2 separate regions of the Homo sapiens genome follow, and region 1 is linked to region 2. Evidence: promoter capture Hi-C in human tissues and cell types (Jung and others, 2019). All regions are on one chromosome and are shown on one strand. The core of a region is centred on a gene start or on the middle of the fragment in contact, and the rest is flanking DNA. Distances in the headings are between cores, read along the strand shown.

The links. The method cuts DNA at HindIII sites, captures the fragments that hold promoters and counts their contacts. A contact is called where the count stands out against the background at its distance.
Region 1: a contact is called between a fragment that was not itself captured here and the fragment with the promoter of UNC5A in region 2, in 3 of the 25 tissues and cell types used here (mesendoderm cells, spleen and thymus).

Annotation. Positions count from the first base shown.
Region 1 is chr5:176,773,866-176,778,788 of GRCh38, forward strand. No RefSeq gene overlaps it. Among named protein-coding and RNA genes, the nearest start is that of LINC01574, 33 kb to the left of the region's middle. The HindIII fragment of the contact is 9,372 bases long and covers 1-4,923 here.
Region 2 is chr5:176,809,219-176,814,011 of GRCh38, forward strand. UNC5A (unc-5 netrin receptor A) reads left to right here and starts at 1,341. Exons shown (of 15, transcript NM_133369.3): 1 at 1,341-1,602. The coding sequence starts at 1,533. The HindIII fragment of the contact is 11,668 bases long and covers 1-4,793 here.

The DNA of each region.
Region 1 (4,923 bases), core at 1,282-3,781, 34 kb before region 2:
GTATCCTGTTCATTGGCCCCGAACGCCTCACTGGTGATGCTGGGGTCGCTTCCAGTCATCCGCTTCCACAGACAGTGCTGCAAAGGGCATCTTCCCCGCACAGGTGTGTGCGTGCCTGTGCAAACACGCTTGCGAGGCCAGTTCCCACAAGTGGAATTGTCACATCAGAGTGTGCGCATTTCACGGTGTTAAAGGCATCGCCAAATTGCCCTCTGAGGAGGTTATACCACAGACTCCTCTTTAAAAGTACATTTTTTTTCCTCGTTATAAAAGTAGTCTTTTAGTAGGATTCTTCAGTGTGATTTGATGACACCCTGTAACTGAAATCTTTTCTGGCAGAACATAGTCAATGGGAAAATAACATCAATTACCTGGAATTTTCCTGCCAGCCTGGCTGGCTTGCCCCTCTCCTGTCAAATAGGGGGTTCTTGTGTTAGGCGCCTGTTTTTCCTTCAGGTGGTCTCTGTCTGGGCTCTGAGGCAGGGTGCGAGGACGGGGCTCTTTGGAGCTGGCCAGCCCCCCTCGCGTCAATGACTAATCCCAGCCTCCCCCATGTTCCCTCCGTGAGGAGAAGAGGAAGGGAAACAGAAAGTCATTTCCCCCATCTGGATAGTCCTATATTTAATGTCGAATGTCTAATGTGTCCTCGTTCTTCCTGTTCTTGACCAGCCTTTGGCTAAGAGAGACGTTCCCTGCTGCTCGAAGGTGGAAGGAAGGGTCGCCACCCACGGGCAGAGGGGGCTTCTCTTCTCCCCTCTGGGCCTGGATCGGCTGCCGGGACAGATAACCTCCTGTGTGGCGTGCCCACCCCTGGTGAGGCCCCCACAGTGGCTTTAGGGCTGGAGGGGCCCCTGAAGGCCAGCTTGTCCAGCACCTGGTTTTAGGGATGGGCAAACTGTGGCGCAGCAAACGAGTTCATTTGTCCGAGGCCACATCCCCAAGGGCCCCCAATCACCTGCTGTGAAAGGGGTTGAGCTCCTTCCAAGAGATAAAGGCCTGGATGTGAGCCCTGCCCCCCTTCTCCAGCCCATCTCCTGTCATTCCCTGCCTCACCTGAATGGCTGGGACAGCTCAAGCGGACTTGACCTTGGTTGGCGGCTGCTCCCGCCTGCCCATAGCCCCACACACTAGTCCCACGCTGTGCCTCAATTCCAGCCCACACTCACGCCAACCTCCCTCCTCCTCAGTTTGCTGGTCAGCTCCTTCTCATTCATGATGACTCAGCTCAGACACCCCATCCTCCAGGAAGCCTGTCCTGGTTTCCTCGAGCTGGGTTCCTTGACTCTTCTTGGTGCCTAAGCACATCTCTGTTACCTCTTGCCACATTCCTCGTGGTTCGTTTGAGGCCCGTCTTCCCACCAACACCACACAGAGCTTTTTGAGGGCTGAGAATAAACCCAAGTCATCTACGTCTCTCCAGGAACACGTGTTTATTAAATGAATGAATGAATGAATGAATGAACGAACAAACCAGAAGCTGGGTGACGGTCGCTGTCATGGAGTAGAAAGAAAGACTCTTGGGTTAGGGATCGGGACACCTGGATCTCTGCTGCTTATTATTTGTAAATCACTGGGCAAGCCTCTTACCTTCTAAGGCCTCAGTTTCCTCATCTGTAAAAGGGTACAATTTGGCTGTGTGTCAGTCAGCTGTTGCTATGTAGCAAACAACCACAAACTCTCAGAGGCAAACGGCAATAAACTTCGTAGATGTGCCTGACGTAAGATGGAGTCACATCCTGATAAACCCACAGAAAGTTAGAAATCTCGTAGGTGGAAAATGCACTTGATTCTCCTATCCTGGCAAACATCGTAGCTTAGCCTGGCCTAGCTTAAACGTGCTCAGAAGGTTTCTATCAGCCTACGTTGGGCAGCAACATCTAAAACAAAGCCTGTTTTATAATAATGTGTCAGATAGTTCATGTAATTTATTGAACACTATACCAAATGTGAAAATTGGGGGCTGGGCGCTTTGGCTCACGCCTGTAATCCCAGCACTTTGGGAGGCCAAGGAGGGTGGATCACCTAAGGTCGGGGGTTCAAGACCAGCCTGACCAACATAGAGAAAACCCGTCTCTGCTAAAAATACAAAAATTAGCCGGGTGTGATGGCGCATCCCTGTAATCCCAGCTACTTGGAAGGCTGAGGCAGGAGAATCACTTGAACCTGGGAGGCGGAGGTTGAGGTGAGCCGAGATAGCACCACTGCACTCCAGCCTGAGCAACAACAGCGCAACTCCGTCTCAAAAAGCCAGAGTAGTTTCTACTGAGCATGCATGGCTTTGCATCATTGTAAAGTTGAAAAATCGTAAGTCAGGGACCGGGTGTATGTGACTCCTACGTGTGCAGACTGCCTGGATGTTGGCAGCCCAGCCTGGGCTGCGCTGGGAGGGCGGTTGGGTCTGGCTCTGCTCCATTGTGTTTCTCATTTTTCTTGGACCAGTGGGGTGCCAGGCCGTGTCTTATGGTTATACCCAAAGTTAAAGGTCGAGGGGAACATGCAGCTCCTCGGGGGAGAAACTGCAAAGGGTATGGATACAGAGAGGGGTAAAAAATCGAGACCAATAAATCAAGCTACCCCTGACTCTGTGTTGCTGAGGTGGTCCAATCAGCCCTTCCCCCTCTTCTGTGGCTGCCCTGAGTCCTCCTGTCTGGGGAACTTCCCTAACCCCCATCTTCTTTCCGGTCAGCCTGGGCCCAGGTCTCTCCCCGTGGAAATTCTGGGAGCACAGTTTTGTGTCTTCTCTCCCAGCTCAGTCTGCAGTTTCCGCCCTGTACAAAACCTCCACTAAAATGTGCTCGCTCCTTCAGCAATAGCACAACTGCGGCTGGGCACCGTGGCTCACGCCTGTAATCCTAGCACTTTGGGAGGCCAAGGTGGGCAGATCACCTGAGGTCAGGCGTTCGAGGCCAGCCTGGCCAACATGGTAAAACCGCGTCTCTACTAAAAATACAAAAATCAGCTGCGCTTGATGGTGGGTGCCTGTAATCCCAGCTACTTGGGAGGCTGAGGCAGGAGAATCACTTGAACCCAGGAGGCAAAGGTCACAGTGAGCCAAGATCACCCCACTGCACTCTAGCCTGGGCAACAGAGCGAGACTCCGTCTCAAACAAACAGACAAACAAACAAAAGCACAACTGTCCATCTGTTCTCTCAAGCCTGAGACCCAGGCATTCGCCTTCCTCTCCCCGTGTCCAACATTGCACCAAGCCTGAGGATCTTCTCCTCGGTCCCTCCTGACCCTGACACCTCCTGTCCAGGGCCCCCGCCCCCACCCCATGCTCCTGGGGCCAGGCCCTGCCCCATCCAAATATGTTCTCTGTGCTGTCACCTGCAAAATCTTTGTGACAGGCAGATCTGACTGTGCCGGGGACATGTGGCTGGGTCCTCGCTACTAGTGGTGGGATCCAGGAAGGAAATATAAGGCAGTGAAGGGACTGGGTGAGTGTGACAGGTTGAATTGAACTGTGCCCCCAAAAAAGGTAGGCTAGAGTTCTAAGCCCTAGCACCTCAGCAGGTGACCTTATTTGGAGACAGGGTCCTTCCAGAAGTCATCAAGTTAAGGCGAGGTGACTAAGGCGGCCCCGATACAATGTGACTGGTATCTATAAAAAAGGAGAATTTGGACAAGACAGACAAACACAGGGGCAGATCATGTCAGACCACAGGGAGAATACCATCTACAACAATGCCTGAGGCTGCCAGAATCAAGAGCAGAGGCGTGGAACAGACTCCCCCTCACAGCCTTCAGAAGGAACCAACCCTGATGCCTAGATCCTGAACTTCACATTTCTGTCTTTTAGCCCCCTAGTTTGTGGTACGTTGTTACTAGGCAGCCCTGGGAAATTAATGCGGTGAGGGGTGGGGAGGACACCAAGCGGAACATTAGCACAGCCAGGGAATGGTATCTGGGTGGCAATAGGGAGCGGTGGGGACTCTGGCAAACTGGAGAGCCCATAGCCCAGTGGAAGCCGGCTCCAGCTGGTTGTTGCCGCGTGGGATTGCAAGCCTGAGCTTCAGACTCTCTAAAGAACCTGGAAATCTAGATTTGTATGTGAAATCATGAAATCACCTCATCTTTTAATGTTGGCTAAAAATACAAAAGAAAACAAAAATCTGTGGGACAAAATTGGCTGGAAGGCTGCCAGTCTGTGATTTTGGGCTTACAGCAAGGATCAACAAACTATAGCCCACAGCCCAAATCTGGCCTACCACCTGTTTTTACAAATAAAGTTTTATTGGAACAGAGCCGCGCTCACTCACTTACATACTGACTACACCTGCACTCCACAGTGGCAGTGAGAAGGTTCAGCAGAGACTGCAAAACCTAAAATATTTATTATCCTGTCTTTTTTTTTTTTTTTTTTTTTTGAGACGGAGTTTCACGCTTGTTGCCCAGGCTGGAGTGCAATGGTGCGATCTCAGCTCACCACAACCTCCGCCTCCCGGGTTCAAGCAATTCTCCTGCCTCAGCCTCCCAAGTAGCTGGGATTACAGGCATGTACCACCACGCCCAGCTAATTTTGTATTTTTAGTAGAGATGAGGTTTCACCATGTTGATCAGGCTGGTCTCAAACTCCCGACCTCAGGTGATCTGCCTGCCTCAGCCTCCCAAAGTGCTGGGATTACAGGTGTGAGCCACCTTGCCTAGACTATCCTGTCCTTTATAGAAGATGTTTGTCAGCCTCTGGCTTAGTTAAGAAATTTAACCCCTTCATCTTGCAGGAAACAACCTTGGCAATGAGGCTTCTGCTTTCTCATCCATCACACACTCTCACCACCCCTGGCCACCCCTCCCCAAATACACACACACGTTACTCTCCAGCAATAATGAACTACTTTAGTTCCCAGAGCAGTCCGTGCACATATGGGCTATATGTTCATCTGTGCCATCTACGCTGGCCCCTGGAAGGGTCCCATCTCCAC
Region 2 (4,793 bases), core at 91-2,590:
AGCTTTAGCTGGTGTTTTTTATAGTAGACTTAAGAGGAAAGCAAAACATTTTTCATAACCCTTCTCTATCAAAAGTGGGAAACAAAAGACAGACCGAGAGAGGGCCTCGTGTCTCAAGAAATATAGGAGAGCTCATATCTCTTTGTGGAAGCAAGACCATCCCTTACATCGCCTAGCCTGCAGCGCCAATTTATATTATCGACCGGCCCCGTAGGCGTTTGAGTTTGCGACCCTGCCCTCACCCTGCTCATTCCCCTCCCGACCCAGACTAGGACCCTCTCTTTTTCCGATCACTCCCCCCAGGCACACCGCACGCGGCTGTCATTTCCTTTCTCCTTCAAGGCAGCCCTCTGTTTATTTTAACCCGATTAGGGAATGGGGGTGGGGCACAGGAGACTCCAGCAGCGGTCACTGCTGGAGGCTCCAGGAGACGACGTGACTTGACCAAGGTCACAGAGCTGGAAGGTGAAGTCGCCTGGACCCTACCCCCGGTCTCCCTAGCTGCCAAAGCCCAGCTCGTTCCTTTACACCCACGTCGCGGGCGCCGTGCGCTCTCGGGGCTCAAACACCGCGCGCCCAGTCGGGTGTGCTGCGCCTGAAGGTTGTTTTCCTTCGGCGAACGGCGCCGAGGGGTTAGGGAAACCTTGGGTCATGGTGTGAGGCGCGCCCCTGGAATCCACCAGCCTGCGAGGCTGGGACTGCGGGTGTCCCCGAGTCTGGCCTGCCAGCTCTGGTGGCCAGGGCACCTCTGCGCGCGGGCCAGGGCCCCGGGGCTCTCCCGCAGTCCCCTAACCAAGCCGCGGGCTGGCAGCGTACCGCGGCGCCCGGACGACCCCGGAGCGCGGCCGCGAGGAAAGGGCGGGGGAGAGGACTGCAGCGGAACCTGCCCGGGGCACCCCTGCCCTGGGCGGCTCTCCGCAGGCTGGCGCCGCGCCGGGGTCGCCGCAGCCCCGGGCCCCTCCCGGGCCACCTGTGCGCAGACTGGCGGGCCCGCGAGAGCCCGGATCCGGAGCACCGATCCACTCCGGGTTTCAGACTCCTGCCCCTGTCCCTGGAGACCCCGCGGGGCGGTGGGAGGCCTCCACGCCCACCACCCCAAGCCCCTCCCTGGGGGAGCCTCAGGCATCGCCCAGAGGGATTCCCGGTGCTGGGGGTGGCCCGCGCGCGCTGCGCGGGGCGGCCCGGCCCCTCCTTCCTTCCCCCGCCCCTCCCAGCCGCCGCCCCGCTCCGTCGCTCCAGTCCGGGTTTTGCGGCGCCCACCGGCCCGCTCTCCGGCTGCGGGCTCCGCGGCGCGGCTGGCTCGGTGCGCGGCGCGGCTGGCGCTGCGCTCCGCCCCGGCTGCATTGCTGCGCTCCCGTGCCCAAGGGAGCCACGCGCCGCGTGCGCCCGGCAGCCGGCCGCCCGGAGGCAGCGCAGTCCGCTGGCATGGGCCCCGGGGGCGCCCCGAGCTGGGGCTCCGGGCTGAGGCGCTAAAGCCGCCCTCCCGCCCGCGGGGCCCCGCGCCCGGCCCGCCCGCCTGCCCGCCCGCGGCCATGGCCGTCCGGCCCGGCCTGTGGCCAGCGCTCCTGGGCATAGTCCTCGCCGCTTGGCTCCGCGGCTCGGGTGAGTCACGCCGCGCGCGCTCTGGGGAGGCTTGCGGGGGACCGTGCGCGCGAACGCTCGCTGCTCTGGGGGTCCCTGACCAGCGCTGCCAGACCCGGCTGGGAGCCCCCCGAGGCCAAACTTTGCGAGGCGGGACGCGGGGGGCTCTTCTTGCTGCTGCGCAGCTTCCCCGCGCGCTCTCCCGGAAGCCTGGGTTCTGCCAAGTCCAGGAGCAGCTGTCAGCCCGCGGGGCTGGCGAGTGTAGACACCCCACGCCTCCGGGTGGGGGAAGTTTGCTGGTTGCCTGGGCCCGGAGCAGGGCTGGGGGTTTGGATCAACCCCAGGGAGCCTGACTTTGAGGATTCGAAGATTAGAGGGTTTTGAGCCTATCCCAGTGCCCAGGAAATGGGGGGTGCGGGGAACGTTTAAGATACCTCTTCCCGGTAGCATCTGCCCTAAACAGCCACTCACAATCTCCCAGCTTGGCACCTGGCCTCTGCCCACGTCCAGAACACAGTGTCCTCCTCTGTCCCCGCCACACACGCTCTCACACGCACACACTCAGGCGTGGAGGCGCATACACCAGCCCCCAGTCCTTGCAGCCAGCACAGTCAAAGCGCCGCGGTCCCGGTGGCCGGGGCTGTGGCTCCTGGCCTCCCTGGTGCGGGGGGCCAGAGTTGTGTGTGGTTGGTCCGCCAGTTTCCCCTTCTTCCTTAAACTCCATAGCCTTTCTTGGCCCCTGCATGCCCCATTGGTCACCCTAACCCACTGCTAACTCAGCCCTCAGCCCACCTCATTCCCTTGGGAGGGGCTTGGGGGGAGGAAGTTCCCCTGCATCCTTTGTCTGCTGTCCCTGAGCCTTCACCTAGGCTGAGCTGTGGGGGCCTCCTGATCTCTGCCCCCCATGCACTTAGCTGAGTTGAGCGTATGTGTCTGTGGTGGTGGGGGGTGGGTGCCATTTGTGTGGTCAAGGGGGCTTGAGGCTTACCCTGGCAATTCTCGATTCTTGCTGCCCCTAGAACCTGGGCGGTTACTCCCCAGCCTGGCCAGGCCGCTGCTTATAACAGGGGTGTTGGAAGGGAGCACTGGGGTTTCTGAGCTGCCAAACCAGATTGATCAGAGATCAATGAGTGGGAGCTCAGGAGCCAGCCTGATGATTGAGGCCGATGGCTGTTTCCTTAAAGGGTGTCTCTGCGCAGCGCATCCTGCACCCACCACTGCCTGACCGCCCGCCCCATCCTGCCTCCTCAGTACCCCTCTCTACTCCATCCCACCCCTTCTATCTCCCTTCTCCATCAGCACCCCTCTTCTTCCCCAGGGCCTCTCCTTCTAATCCTGACCAAGCTGAGAGGCTGAACTGCTGTTGGGTGTGTGTCCGTGTCCGCCACATGTGTGTGTTAGGGGCGTGTGTGCAGCTCCGCAGATGAGCACCCGGGTGCAGGTTGCACTGTTGTCCATGATGAGGTGGGGATATTAGTGCCCCACACACAGGTGGGGTGTTGCCTGACACCCAGTAGGTACCCTGGAAATGTTTTCTGAGTTGATGCTTTTGAGGGCTGTGTGGTCATAGCTGCATGTCGCCCACGTGAGCACGTGTGAAGGCTGTGGGTTGACATGTGTGCCCGGGTAACCAGGGGGGTTGGCATGGTGTGTGCAGCATTGGCATGTGTGTGCCCTGATGAACGTGTGTGATGACCAGCATGCCGCACGTGTGTGACGGCTGTGTGCAGTTGCACAGGTGAGCGTGTACAGATAAGGGGGCACAGGTACCGGTGAAGCAGGGTGCTGCGGCCTGGAGCGGGGGGTTGCCACAGGGACTCCTCAGGAGGCTGTGGGGGTGGGGAAACTGCATCCCTGGTTGGCAGGGCATCTGTTGAGGCCTGGCCCAAGGTTGCCCAGGGAGTCGGCAGGTGGGCACAGGTGCTGCAGGGGCTGACGCAGAGCCTGCCCCAAGGCATCAACTCTGCCCCTGGGCCTGCGGGAGGAGCTGCTGAAGGCCATGGGGTGGGGAGGGGCTGGCCCTACTTCTTTGGGACTCCCTTCCCCCTGTGCCCCACAGGCACTGGGCACATGTGGACGCCCAGGCAGGCTGGCCCTGCCGTGACCCGGGCTCCTCCCGCGCTGCCTTTTGCCTCCGTTGCAACAGCCTCCGGTGAAAAATGTGTCTGTGAGCCGCTGAGGGAGGGATGGCCAGCGGGCAGCAGGGGGCGCCGGGGGCCAGCGCGACTGACTGCAGCCGCTTGCTCCCCAGGCCACGCGCCCACCCTCTGTTGCTGGACATCACACAAAAGCCTGTCCCTTCAGCATGCTCGCACCTGCAGGCCCTCTCTGTGCCCGCGCACGCAAGCACCCATCTGTCTCACAGGATTTTCCCTCTCAAACCCCGTCACGCAGCTGGCATGCAAACCCCCACCCTGCCCCTGTGGTCTCCCTGTCACCCAGACCTCTGCAGTCTTGAGCAGGAGGGACTTGGGAGCTGGCTCCCTTGAAGATGGGGCTGAGGGGTGCCATGCTCTGGCATTGCTGCATTGCCCAACCTGACCCCAACCATCTAGCCTGGCTCCTCCTTCTCAGACCCCATCCCCATACTTAGGGCTAACCTAGGACTCGTCTGTCCACCCCGACACTTGGGAGAATGCAGCTGGCTGAGGGGGTCTTAATCCTCCAGGGCTAGGAGATACCCTGTTCCTGCTCGCCCTGCCTTGCAGGTGGGGTGGCCTGGGCTTTGGGGCCCCTAGGTCCTCCCAGGGGAGAGCTGGTCCTCTTGCTGCCTGCCTGCTCCCCACTTGCCTGTGTTGGGAGGGGGGGCTTCTCTCAGGAACCAGGGATAGGCATTGATCCAGGTACCAAGCCCACACCAGAAGTCACGGCCCTCGTTCCCAGGAGCAGCCAACTTTGGCCTCAGCCAAGGGCCAGAGAGCCCCTGTCCTCACGACCCTTCTTCCTGCCTAGTGCTGCTCTGGGCCCAGACCCGCAGGCTGGAGCTCCGAGGCTTCACAAGGCAGGAGCCTGCCCTGAGCTTGGGGTGGGGCTCCCCTGCTCTAGTGCTGGGCCTAGCTGCCACTTGGGAATCTGTGTGTCCACGCATATGCATGCGGGGCCTCCTGTTCTAGGCCACCCCTCTCCCAATGCCCCCTCCTCCCAAGGGCCCTGCCGTCCCCTCCTCCTATTCTCCCAGCCTGGGGCTGGAAGCCTTAGCGTCTCCCTTGCTT